4 separate regions of the Homo sapiens genome follow, and all the other regions are linked to region 4. The links are contacts of gene promoters, found by promoter capture Hi-C in blood cells and fetal thymus (Javierre and others, 2016). All regions are on one chromosome and are shown on one strand. Each heading gives the region's core, a stretch centred on a gene start or on the middle of the fragment in contact. The rest is flanking DNA. Distances are from core to core; before and after follow the strand shown. Region 1 has its middle 180 kb from the start of RAI14-DT. Region 2 has its middle 130 kb from the start of RAI14-DT. Region 3 holds the start of RAI14 (retinoic acid induced 14). Region 4 holds the start of RAD1 (RAD1 checkpoint DNA exonuclease).

Evidence for each region. The method cuts DNA at HindIII sites, captures the fragments that hold promoters and counts their contacts. A CHiCAGO score of 5 or more calls a contact.
Region 1: a contact is called between a fragment that was not itself captured here and the fragment with the promoter of RAD1 in region 4, in 1 of 17 cell types (M2 macrophages). The highest score is 5.0, in M2 macrophages.
Region 2: a fragment that was not itself captured here is called in contact with the fragment with the promoter of RAD1 in region 4 in 7 of 17 cell types (erythroblasts, total B cells, M1 macrophages and 4 more); the score reaches 10.7 in erythroblasts.
Region 3: the fragment with the promoter of RAI14 here is called in contact with the fragment with the promoter of RAD1 in region 4 in 2 of 17 cell types (M2 macrophages and total B cells); the score reaches 6.1 in M2 macrophages.

What each region holds. Positions count from the first base shown.
Region 1 is chr5:34,472,695-34,475,394 of GRCh38, reverse strand. No RefSeq gene overlaps it. Among named protein-coding and RNA genes, the nearest start is that of RAI14-DT, 180 kb to the left of the region's middle. The HindIII fragment of the contact is 2,458 bases long and covers 205-2,662 here.
Region 2 is chr5:34,521,921-34,524,620 of GRCh38, reverse strand. No RefSeq gene overlaps it. Among named protein-coding and RNA genes, the nearest start is that of RAI14-DT, 130 kb to the left of the region's middle. RefSeq lists an enhancer at 1,067-1,590. The HindIII fragment of the contact is 837 bases long and covers 881-1,717 here.
Region 3 is chr5:34,654,964-34,657,663 of GRCh38, reverse strand. RAI14 (retinoic acid induced 14) reads right to left here and starts at 1,336. Exons shown (of 18, transcript NM_015577.3): 1 at 1,189-1,336. RAI14-DT (RAI14 divergent transcript) reads left to right here and starts at 1,491. Exons shown (of 3, transcript NR_183264.1): 1 at 1,491-1,671. RefSeq lists a silencer at 1,329-1,378. The HindIII fragment of the contact is 8,769 bases long and covers 1-2,310 here.
Region 4 is chr5:34,914,172-34,916,871 of GRCh38, reverse strand. RAD1 (RAD1 checkpoint DNA exonuclease) reads left to right here and starts at 1,368. Exons shown (of 6, transcript NM_002853.4): 1 at 1,368-1,456; 2 at 1,911-2,177. The coding sequence starts at 1,980. It overlaps BRIX1 (biogenesis of ribosomes BRX1), which reads right to left and starts at 1,161. Exons shown (of 10, transcript NM_018321.4): 1 at 975-1,161. The coding sequence starts at 1,133. It also overlaps a transcript of TTC23L not described here. RefSeq lists enhancers at 573-1,178, 753-1,652, 1,673-1,732, 1,179-1,784. The HindIII fragment of the contact is 14,569 bases long and covers 1-2,700 here.

The DNA.
Region 1 (2,700 bases), core at 184-2,683, 440 kb after region 4:
ATAGGGCCCAAAAAGCTTGCTGACCCCACGCTAATCTTTTATTATGCAAATAATTCTCTACCTGGCCAGCGCCATGTTGCCTATTTCTTTACTGTACACGTGGTGACAAAGAAAAGGGAAGATGGAGCCTCCATGTTGAACATACCTGGCTTCCAGGTAGCCCTTTTCTATTGGCATAGCTGCCGGCATTCACCCGTGCAAGCTTCCAGCTTGCTTATCTATGTTCGCAGCTAGATTTTCAGGCTGCTCTTTGTTAGAAAAAAATGCTTTCTTGGGCTGCTTTTTGTTAAAAGGGAAGCCTTGCTGAGGACTTTTTTACCCTCACTATCTGCCTAAATAATTTCTTTCTATCTCCTGTCTCAGCATCTCAGTGGTCCTCATTGAGAACAGGTAACCAGTGCCAGCAGGGGCTCCTAGTTCATTGGTAAAACCCTGAACATTGACACCTTTCATTTCCCTGGGGTTAAATGGAAGAGAGAATTGCCCCAAGAAGGACGGAAGTTTCATTTTCTTTGGCTCCTGAAGTAGTACACAAGCGGATTTATAGAAAACAAAGACCTTTAGTATTTCTTACATCCTAGAATCTGGAGACTTGAGATTCATGCCTATTGCATTATTTCAGAAAAGAGATTTGGTTGTGAACTCTGCTCCAAGACATTGCTTGGTCAAGGAAGCCTAAGTTTTAGCCACCTGGACACGATCTCCATCTAGTGGTCATACTATGTAACAGCACTTGCACACAGCTTTGAGAGGTTTGGTATTCTGTATTTTGCTCTTCTCCGGAGAAATTCAATATAGCAGAAATATAGTACATAATATAATGCAGATATGAGAGATTCTACAGCCTACAAACAGTTCTAAAACGGGCTAGAATTTGGGAGGTGAAGCAACAGGGTAGCATTGTAATTTTATTAAATTTCAGAATAATTTTAGATTTATGTTAAAGTTGTAAAGTGGCCAGGCGCAGTGGCTCACGCCTGTATCCCAGCACTTTGGGAGGCCGAGGCGGGCAGATCACCTGAGGTCAGGAGTTCGAGCCTGGCCAACATGGTGAAACCCCATCTCTACTAAAAATACAATAAATTAACCGGGTGTGGTAGCCCAGGCCTGTAATCCCAGCTACTTGGGAAGCTGAGGCATGAGAATCGCTGGAACCTGGGAGACAGAAGTTGCAGTGAGCCGAGATCATGCCACTCCACTCCAGCCTGGGCAACAGAGTGAGACTCTGTCTCAAAAAAAAATTAATAAATGAATAATAAATAAATAAAGTTATAAAGTGATACAGAGTTCCCATACACACCTCACCCAGGTTCCTCTAGGTTAAAATCTCACATTACCATGATACGTTTGTCAAAACTAAGAGACTAGCATTTCCACATTATTGTCAAAATCCAGACTGTATTTTAATATCACTAGTTTTTCAACTAATGTCCTTTTTCTGTTCCAGGATCCCACTCAGGACAGCACATCTCATTCTGTCCTCATGTTCCCTCAGTTTCCTCTAGTCTGTGAGAGATTTCATGACAGCAGTTTTGAGGAGTAATAGCCAGGTATTTAGCCAGTTTTGAGGAGTAATAGCCAGAATGTCCCTCAATTGTAGATGTGTGGTGTTATTTCTGAGGCCTCCGTTTTGTTCCATTGGTCTACATCTCTGTTTTGGTACCAGTACCAGTTGCTGTTTTGGCTACTGTAGCCTTGTAGTATAGTTTGAAGTCAGGTAGCATGATGCCTCCAGCTTTGTTCTTTTTGCTTAGGATTGTCTTGGCTATACAGGCTCTTTTTTGGTTCCATATGAAGTTTAAAGCAGTTTTATCTAGTTCTGTGAAGAAAGTCAATAGTAGCTTGATGGGAATAGCATTGAATCTATAAATTACTTTGGGCAGTATGGCCATTTTCATTATATTGAGTCTTCCTATCTATGAACATGGAATTCTTTTTCCATTTGTTTGTATTCTCTCTTATTTTCTTGAGCAGTGGTTTGTAGTTCTCCTTGAAGAGGTCCTTCACATCCCTTGTAAGTTGTATTCCTAGGTATTTTATTCTCTTTGAAGCAATTGTGAATGGGAGTTCACTCATGATTTGACTCTCTGTTTGTCTGTTATTGGTGTATAGGAATGCTTGTGATTTTTGCTCATTGATTTTGTATCCTGAGACTTTGCTGAAGTTGTTCATCAGCTTAAGTTTTTAGGCTGAGAAGATGGGGTTTTCTAAATATACAATCATGTCATCTGCAAACGGAGACAATTTGACTTCCTCTCTTCCTATTTGATACGCTTTATTTCTTTCTGTTGACTGATTGCTCTGGCCAGAACTTCCAACACTATGTTGAAAAGGGGTGGTGAGAGAGGGCATCCTTGTCTTGTGCTGGTTTTCAAAGGGAATGCTTCCAGCTTTTGCCCATTCAGTATGATATAGGCTGTGGGTTTGTCATAAATAGCTGTTATTATTTTAAGATGCGTTCCATCAGTGCCTAATTTATTGAGAGTTTTTAGCATGAAGGGGTGTTGAATTTTGTCAAAGGCTTTTTCTGCATCTATTAAGATAATCATGTGTTTTTTGTCATTGGTTCTGTTTATGTGATGGATAATGTTTATTGATTTTCATATGTTGAGCCAGCCTTGCATCCCAGGGATGAAGTCGACTTGATCATGGTGGATAAGCTTTTTGATGTTCTGCTGGATTCGGTTTGCCAGTATTTTA
Region 2 (2,700 bases), core at 50-2,549, 390 kb after region 4:
GTTGCTGTGACTCCAGTAGCACTTGGTACTCAGCTGTAATATGTCTGTGATCAATGTTTTCATCGATATGTAATGCTTATATGCAACCTTAGAACCACTTCTTGTTTGAAGGTCTTGAGATGATTATTCATTTGAAGAGGTCAATACTTACATGACAATATCTTATATGACAACTAAAATGGTTTATTTTTGCAGTTACCAGATATGACAACTTAAGACAACATAGTCTGATGGTGGCCTGGGGCCAAATCAGAAATATCTGTTGGGACACACTCCTAGGCTATGAGTGACTCATAATCACTTTCACTGGCCTTGCTGTAGGCTCAGCCACATATGACCTGCTATGTCTCAGAGAAACTTCTCTCCTTTCTCTTCCAAAATAAATCTCAAAACACCCAACACTCTATGTAAGCAAAGCTATTCAGAGCTTCGCAACTCTCTAGCATGGCATCAGATCCTGTAGAAAGTTATAGGAGATACCCTGGGGATTGAAGATGCTGCACCACCTCATTACAAAAGCTTGAGTGCATCTGACTCTCTGGGTCTCCCTTGCTAGCACAAACCACTCAAGAAATATGTGGCTATGAAAATCTACGATCAATGCTGGCATCATTATATTTGATTATTTCTTGGTGTGTGAATATATATAAACACTATATGCTGAGTGTTCCCCATCTTAGGCATTTATTTTGTAAAGTGATTATATTTGTATTTCCTTCATCTCTCACCAGGCAGACAAACTCAGTTTTAAATATATATTAAATCAAATGAAGACCTATAAAAAACACATCCATCAGAATAGATTAGCGTCTACAACATTGTGCTGTAACATGGTTTTTTCAGTGTGAATCTTGCTTCGAAAGTAAAATGTTGGAAAGCTTTGTTTAAATCTACCAAGCAGGAAAACCAAATGAATACAAAACAAAATCTCAGCTGGCCAATTGTTTCAGACCCAAGACCTGTTCTATTTATTGTTTTTGTAAGAAATAGTTGCCTGGAACATCATTTCTATGGCAGAAATAGTGTCAAGTTCCTAAGGAGAAGAAGTAGGAGGAAGCTCTAAGTGTAAACACCCAAACAGTGGAAGGAAAACCACACATCACTTACTTTGAAAACAGTAGCTGCTTGGGGCCATGATTTTGACGAATCATAATGAGCACTCACAAATTGATTTAATATTAAAATGCATCCAAGCAGACTTTGAAACTATAATTCTCTGACAGTGGATGGACTGATGAAACTCACCAGGAAGGCCAGTTACTCAGGCCTGCGATGTCTTCGGTTATTGAAGACATGTGATTGCCACCTAGCGGCCAACATTAACTTCACCTGGAAGGTCGAGCAATTCTGCAGCCCACTTTGCCCAATGCATAAGGACAACAGTACCAGTCTTTGTCAGTACTCAATTCAAATTCCTTAACACTTCCTCTTTTATCACATCTCTTTGTTCTGTGTAAGTCACCTGTTTACCATCTCTAAGACCAAACATTTTCCTTCACTCCATGTCATTAGTCCCAGAGAGCCTAAGAACCTATCTGCAAAATTCCCTCCATAGTTCTCATTCCATTTCCTTTTTTTTAAACCACAGTTGTTCTATTGGTAAGAAGAAGGGCTCCTGCCTTCATTTTCTCCACCCAGCTTCTTCCACTTTCTCTCCTCCTATTTCACGTCACAAGACACAAGGGCGTCTTGAGAGAGAGGCTTCTGAAAGAAAGCTTGGTAAGGATAACTGAAAACCTGAGAACAATAGTGTCAGAGGCTTTTGAACCAGAGCAACTCCATCTTGAAGAGGGGCTGGGTGAAATAAGGCTGAGACCTGCTGGGCTACATTCCCAGGCAGTTAGGCATTCTAAGTCACAGGATGAGACAGGAGGTCAGCACAAGGTACAGGTCATAAAGACCTTGCTGATAAAACAGGTTGCAGTAAAGAAGCCGACTAAAACCCACCGAAACCAAGACGGTGGCGAGAGTGACCTCTGGCCATCCTCACTGCTACACTCTCACCAGCGCCATGACAGTTTATAAATGCCATGGCAATGACAGGAAGTTACCCGATAAGGTCTAAAAAGGGGATGCATGAATAATCCACCCCTTGTTTAGCATATCATCAAGAAATAACCATAAAAATGGACAACCAGCAGCCCTCGGGGCTGCTCTGCCTATGGAGTAGCCATTCTTTTATTCCTTCACTTTCCCAATAAACTTGCTTTCACTTTACGGACTTGCCCTGAATTCTTTCTTGCACAAGATTCAAGAACTCTCGCTTGGGGTCTGGATCCAGACCCCTTTCCGGTAACAGCAACACTCCTGTTACTTCACCAAGGAATTATAAGTAAATATTTCTATGTTACCAAGACTGACAAAGTTCAAAAATAATAATGCTGATAATACAGCTGTTTGTGGTGAAAATAAGTGGAAAATGTGTTGGCCAAGCTGGTCTGAACTCCTGACCTCAGGTGATCCACGCCTTGGCCTCCCAAAGTGCTGGGATCACAGGCATGAGCCACCGCACCCAGACCTAGTTTAGTCTTTGTGTTGACAAAGCACAAAGATGAAACTATTTGCCACGCCCCTCCTTCACCACAACTGGACCTGCTCTAACCTCCTCTCTGCCCTGGTCTGAGCCTTGGATCCTATCACCTTGGCTCCCTTGCCTTGGTTTCTTGTTAGGTAGAATCAGAGCCAGGCTCCATCAGGAGA
Region 3 (2,700 bases), core at 87-2,586, 260 kb after region 4:
GCAGCTGGGCATTCTCCTCTCCCGGAAGGAAGACGGAATCCCACCCCGATCATGCGTGAGCTGCGGCGAAGAGAAGCCGCTGGTCCCGAGGCGAGGGGCCTCGAGTCCGCAGATTCCCCTCAACATTTCTGGGAGTAAAGTTGGGCTTAGCTGGGCTCCTGGCAAATAAAGAGGAGCCTGGAAAGACAGCCATGCTCAGGCCCCCGTGAGGCCACTTCGGACCCCTCCACGCTGTGCTGGGCTGCATCTGCCTTAATTCCCCGTCTGTTGCTTCTCCAGGCTCTGAGCCCCCTCCACAAAAGGGGGATGCGAAACTCAAAGGAGTTAGGATGTCAACCCTGCAAACCGCAGAAACTAAACCGACACCAACCTGCCCAAGAAGGCAGCGAAGGTGGTTGAGGACGACACCCCACCCCCCACCCCCCACCAGGCAGGGGTCGCGGGAGATGGCGGGCGCCTTTCTGGTGGCTCCACGTCCTCCTTACTCCCGAAGTCCCGGCGGCCCCGAGTCTGCCCCAACTCCAGCATCCGTTCTCCCCGAGCTGCGGCGGGGAAAACAAGGTAGGGGGCAGGGGCAGGCCCAGAGGGGTCTCGCCCCCGCCCTTGGGCCGGCCGAGGGGCTCCCTGGAGTCAGAGGAGGAACAATAGCGGACCCCGCGTCCTGGGAGCCACCCGGAGTCTCCCGCTCGCACCTCCCTCCCCACCTCCTCCAAGTTCAGCCGGGAGGCGGATTGGGCTCAGCAGCACCGACGCGGGGGCAGCGAGGCGCCGCGCGGGGCGAAACAGGTGGGACCCGGCGCAGACTCCAGGGTGCATCTCCGGGTCTGCTCATTCATTCCCACCCGCGCTCCCTCCGCCGCGGCCCCTGCCCCGCGCCCCGCCCCAGCCGGCCTGCGAGTCGCGGAGGACCCGGGAAGAACCCTTCTCCTAACTTGGCCGGGTCTTCCCGCTCTACCCTCATCTCCACCTTCCTCTCCTTCCTCTTGTCCCCAGATCTGCTCTCCGCAGACAGTGGGCTGCCGGCGGTGGACCAGGGAGAGGTGGCGGGACCCCGGCTGCAGCCCGCTCAGCCGCTCCGCCCGGGCGCCGTCCCCAGCGCCTCCCGCGCCCGAGCTCCAGACACAAAGGCGGGGACACGAGCCCGGGACCCCGCGCCGGGAGCCTCCCAACTCCGTGCCGCGCACTCACCCCATCGAGGCGGCGGCGGCGCTCCCCGGACCCAGCTGGCTGCTCCACCCCGCCCGCCGCTTCCCCAGGAAAACGCGGCCGCCGGGCTCGCTTCCTGCTCGGCTTCCTGCGCCGCAGTCCCTCCTCCTCCCCCGCTGCGGGGGTCAGTGGGCGCCGAGCTCCCGGGCTAGGCCGGCGGGGCGGGGGCAGCGGCAGCACCACCACGTGGCCGCCGGGCGCCGGCCCCCGCCGACCTGGATCCAGTGGGAGCGGGAAGGGAGGCGCTAACCATTCCCCTCCCATTCCACCCCTCGCGGCCCCAAATTCCGCGAGTCAGGTGACCCGGCCCCGGGCTCTGGCCGGGACCTGCGGGGGGTGCTCTCCGCCCTCCAGCCCCCGGCGCATCTCCCCGGCCCGCGCGTCCCGGCTGTTCGTGGCTTGCTTTTAGTCTCCAGGGATCGTGGGACCCTTCTCCGCGGATCTGTTTCATCCTCTTAACCTGAAGTTAGTGGAAGCCCCCCACGCTCTGACCCCTGGGTTTAGGACGGATGAGATCCCAGATACTGTTTATTTCTGATTAACTTCCAAAGTCGTTTGTGGTAGTGGCGAGTGTTTCAAAGTCACGGATCCAAGCCCCTTCTGACCAGAATCTAAAAGGTTGTTTTCCAAAATCATTGAACAGAAAGTAAAGTAGAATGTGCTCACGTTCTCCGGACTGAACCAATTGGTTGAAGTGACTGTTTTCTAGCACTCATTGGGTGGCAAGGCAAGACTACCACCGTTCAGTGTTGTTCTGCTCAGGAGTTAGAAAGGAGAAACCTACAGCCTGAACTGACAGGCGAGATTGCGCATGGGAACGCCTTCAAAATAGTGTGTGAGAAGCCACGGGGTACAGGCTCACTGCCCCAGGTCCCCGACAGCTTCTCTCCCTATCCCAGCCCACTAAGGCCCGACCTTTCAATTACGATGGACTCCACCATTAATTCCAAGGATTTCAAAGCTCTCTATCTACCCACTCATCTAATTTGGGCTGGCTTTTCCATGCATTCTAGTCATGCTAACCAGCTGTGACTTCAGTTCTGTTCACCTAAGCTCCTCCCTTCTCCTCGTTAGCTCTGCCTCCTTTGCTCAGGGAAGAAAGCTTTCTAGAATAAATAACGTATTGAGTTCTTTCTGGGATCTACTGTAAGTCAATTGAACTTAAGAGGGAAAAAAGGTCGATTCCAACAAAATTGAAATTCACCCTAACAGCTCAGTTTATAACGTGTCAGCTACATACTAATATTTATATGGCAGATATTACCTGTTCCCTCCCCCCGCCCCATCCCCCTTTCCTTCCTCCCTCTCCCTACTAGGGAAGAGCCTATCTCCCCTTTAACAGTTGAACTTGACAAACAAGCATCAAAAGCCTTGTAACTAGGTGCAGGGTCTTCACTTCCTACAGCAAAAGTTCCTTAGCCAAGTGAGGAACAGCTAAAGCAAGATGTACACTCCTCTTCCTGTCCTTTATCCCTCTCAAACAAAGTCACACTG
Region 4 (2,700 bases), core at 119-2,618:
GCCCCCCAATCTGCAGGTCAGAAAAGAGCACAGAATGTTGCTGTTAATAACGGGGCTAGAATTTACACTTATCTTTCATTCCACAGAGCTCACTTCTTTCTTAGAGCTTGCCATCACACCACACGGGGTCATTTACTTATCACCTACTCCGCGCTAGAGTACTATGCTAAGTGCGGAGGACGCAAAAATTAATGTCAAAGATAATCCTTGTTCACAGTATTCTGTCTAGCTTAAGAAGAGTTCTTAGTTGAATGAAAGCTAATTCTAACAACTTGTGTGCACTTCTTTTGAATAAAAACCATCAACTTATTTGAATTCTTAAGTTTCCTCCTAAACTCCAACATTTCAGGAGGAAGAGGTCACATTCTAGTCATCTTTGCAATCTCAAACCCAAAGGAAGCCTAACTTGGTACAGTGCATGGCACATTCAATGTCTGTTGAATACAAGTAAAGCTCATACTACCTAGTCTATTTTTCAGTATCTCTTGAGTTAATGACCTGGTTAACAAGTCAGAGTCACAGTCCCAAGGGCAACAACTTTTTAAAGGCTCCCCTAACGTACTTCAGGATCCCTGACTGAGAGTGGCTGACTATGGCAGTATATGGGCATACTAATCACTGGAGAAATAATAGCGAGAAATAACCAAGGAAAAGCACTACTCTCCAAAAACATTAAAAAAAAAAAACAACTGAACAACTAGTAAGAAAGAACGCTGGATCTGAGCACCCTGTAAGTCGCTTCCCCGTGGGCCGGGTAAAGGTTTTAAAACCCGCCGCCTCCAGGAAGACGGCCACGTGCACAAGGATTAGCTGCAAACTCCGTGCCCAGTCTGGCCGGGAGAATTGCTAAAACCGACCTACCGTTAACACCCGGGCTACTCTGAAATTAAGCAAGGCTGTAGTCAAGTAAGTAACCCAAGAAAAGGCGCACAGAGCCGCCGCCGCAGGTGTAGCCCGGGGACATCCCCTCCTACCTTGCAAACGGGGCCTGGGATCCGGTCCCTCTCTTCTTCCTCCACCTCCTCTGCTGTGGCGTGCCGCTTAGCTGGCGGCTCCGCATCTATTTCGTTTCTTTTTGGCTTCTTCGCCTGAACTGCAAAGCCTCCACGCCGTTTCCTCTTGGTTGCCGCCATCTTGCCTCGCCGCCCGCGCTCTTGGCCTCCTTTCCGGCGCTGCCGCTCGCTCCTATTTCCGATCTCTATGGTTCGGCGGCTCTAAGCGCTCAGCTCCGCGGTCGTCCTCCAGGTCTGTGCCGCCTCCTTCCGGTCTCGGTGGCGCGGCACGCGCGGCTCTCTAGGCCTCCTTCAGCTCTGTGGTGACGGTGGCCGAGGTGGAGGGCCGGTCTGAAGAGTGGCGGGACTGGCTTCACTTCCTCCGCGGTTCCTCGGAGCCGCCTCGCTCCTCTTCAGGGACTTTGCTGAGAAGGGCTCTCGGGCGTCCAGACCCCACCGCAAAGGTAGGGTTTCCGCACTCGGGGACCCCGAGACTAGTAAGCGATGCTGTCCCGCGGGCGGGCTGGTGAATGGGGTTGTCTGGGACTCTTGGAGGATTATCTGGACACTCCGGGCCCGCCCCGCCATCGCCTGTTTTGTTGGAGGCGGGGCTGGTGGCGCGGGCTGCACAAAACCGACTCCCCGCGGATTTGTAGCTCCTGTTTGGCCGGGAGATACCGTGTCAGTTGCGTGTCTTCATTCTTCACAACTTTTCACGTTATTGTCCTCTTACGGAGACGAGGAAACCGTAGCTTAGATAATTTTCCTCCAGAATTACAAAGATAGTTAAGTGACATAGGTGGGGTTCGGCCTGGTCAGCCGTGTTCAGCCTCCCAGCCCCTTTCCACCTCTCAGCGCAGGTGGAGCTCGCCGGACCTCGCCAGCACTGATGGGAGTTTTACTGTCTAATCCCTTCAGGTGTTTGGCGATCCGCCGAGAAGTTGTTGGCCCCAGGAGCATCCCTCGGGGCCGAATGCGCAGTGGACGATGCCCCTTCTGACCCAACAGATCCAAGACGAGGATGATCAGTACAGCCTTGTGGCCAGCCTTGACAACGTTAGGAATCTCTCCACTATCTTGAAAGCTATTCATTTCCGAGAACATGCCACGTGTTTCGCAACTAAAAATGGTATCAAAGTAACAGTGGAAAATGCAAAGTGTGTGCAAGCAAATGCTTTTATTCAGGTATGGAAGTAGGCGCCTTTAAGCCTGTGCCATAGATACTCTAAATGTAATTTAATGAAATCGGAAGGTTTCAGTAGACAAAATAACTTAATAGTCATAATAACTTGTCAATAGTCATAATAAATAACTTAATAAATAAATAATAGTCTTAAGTTAGAGAACAAAACGTCATTACTTGAATTTTTTTTCTCTCCCGGTAACAAATTCTTTTCCCATCTTGTTTTACAGAGATAATGGTTAGTAATGACTAAAGTTTATTAAACTAGGCTATTGGCTAGGCTACAGTCTTCTTATTGTTTAACTTATTTAATCTTAACAATAGTCCTGTAAGGTAGGTTCTGTTATTATTCCCGTTTTATATATGTGGAAACGAGGCACAATTTTAAGTGATTTGCCAACAGTCCCACAGCTGGTAAGTGGCTGAATTGGGATAAGAACGCTGAATATTTGTTTCCAGAATATATGCTCTTTTTTCCACTGCGATATGCTATTACTAAAGAGTATTTTTTTCCTTTACTGGTTG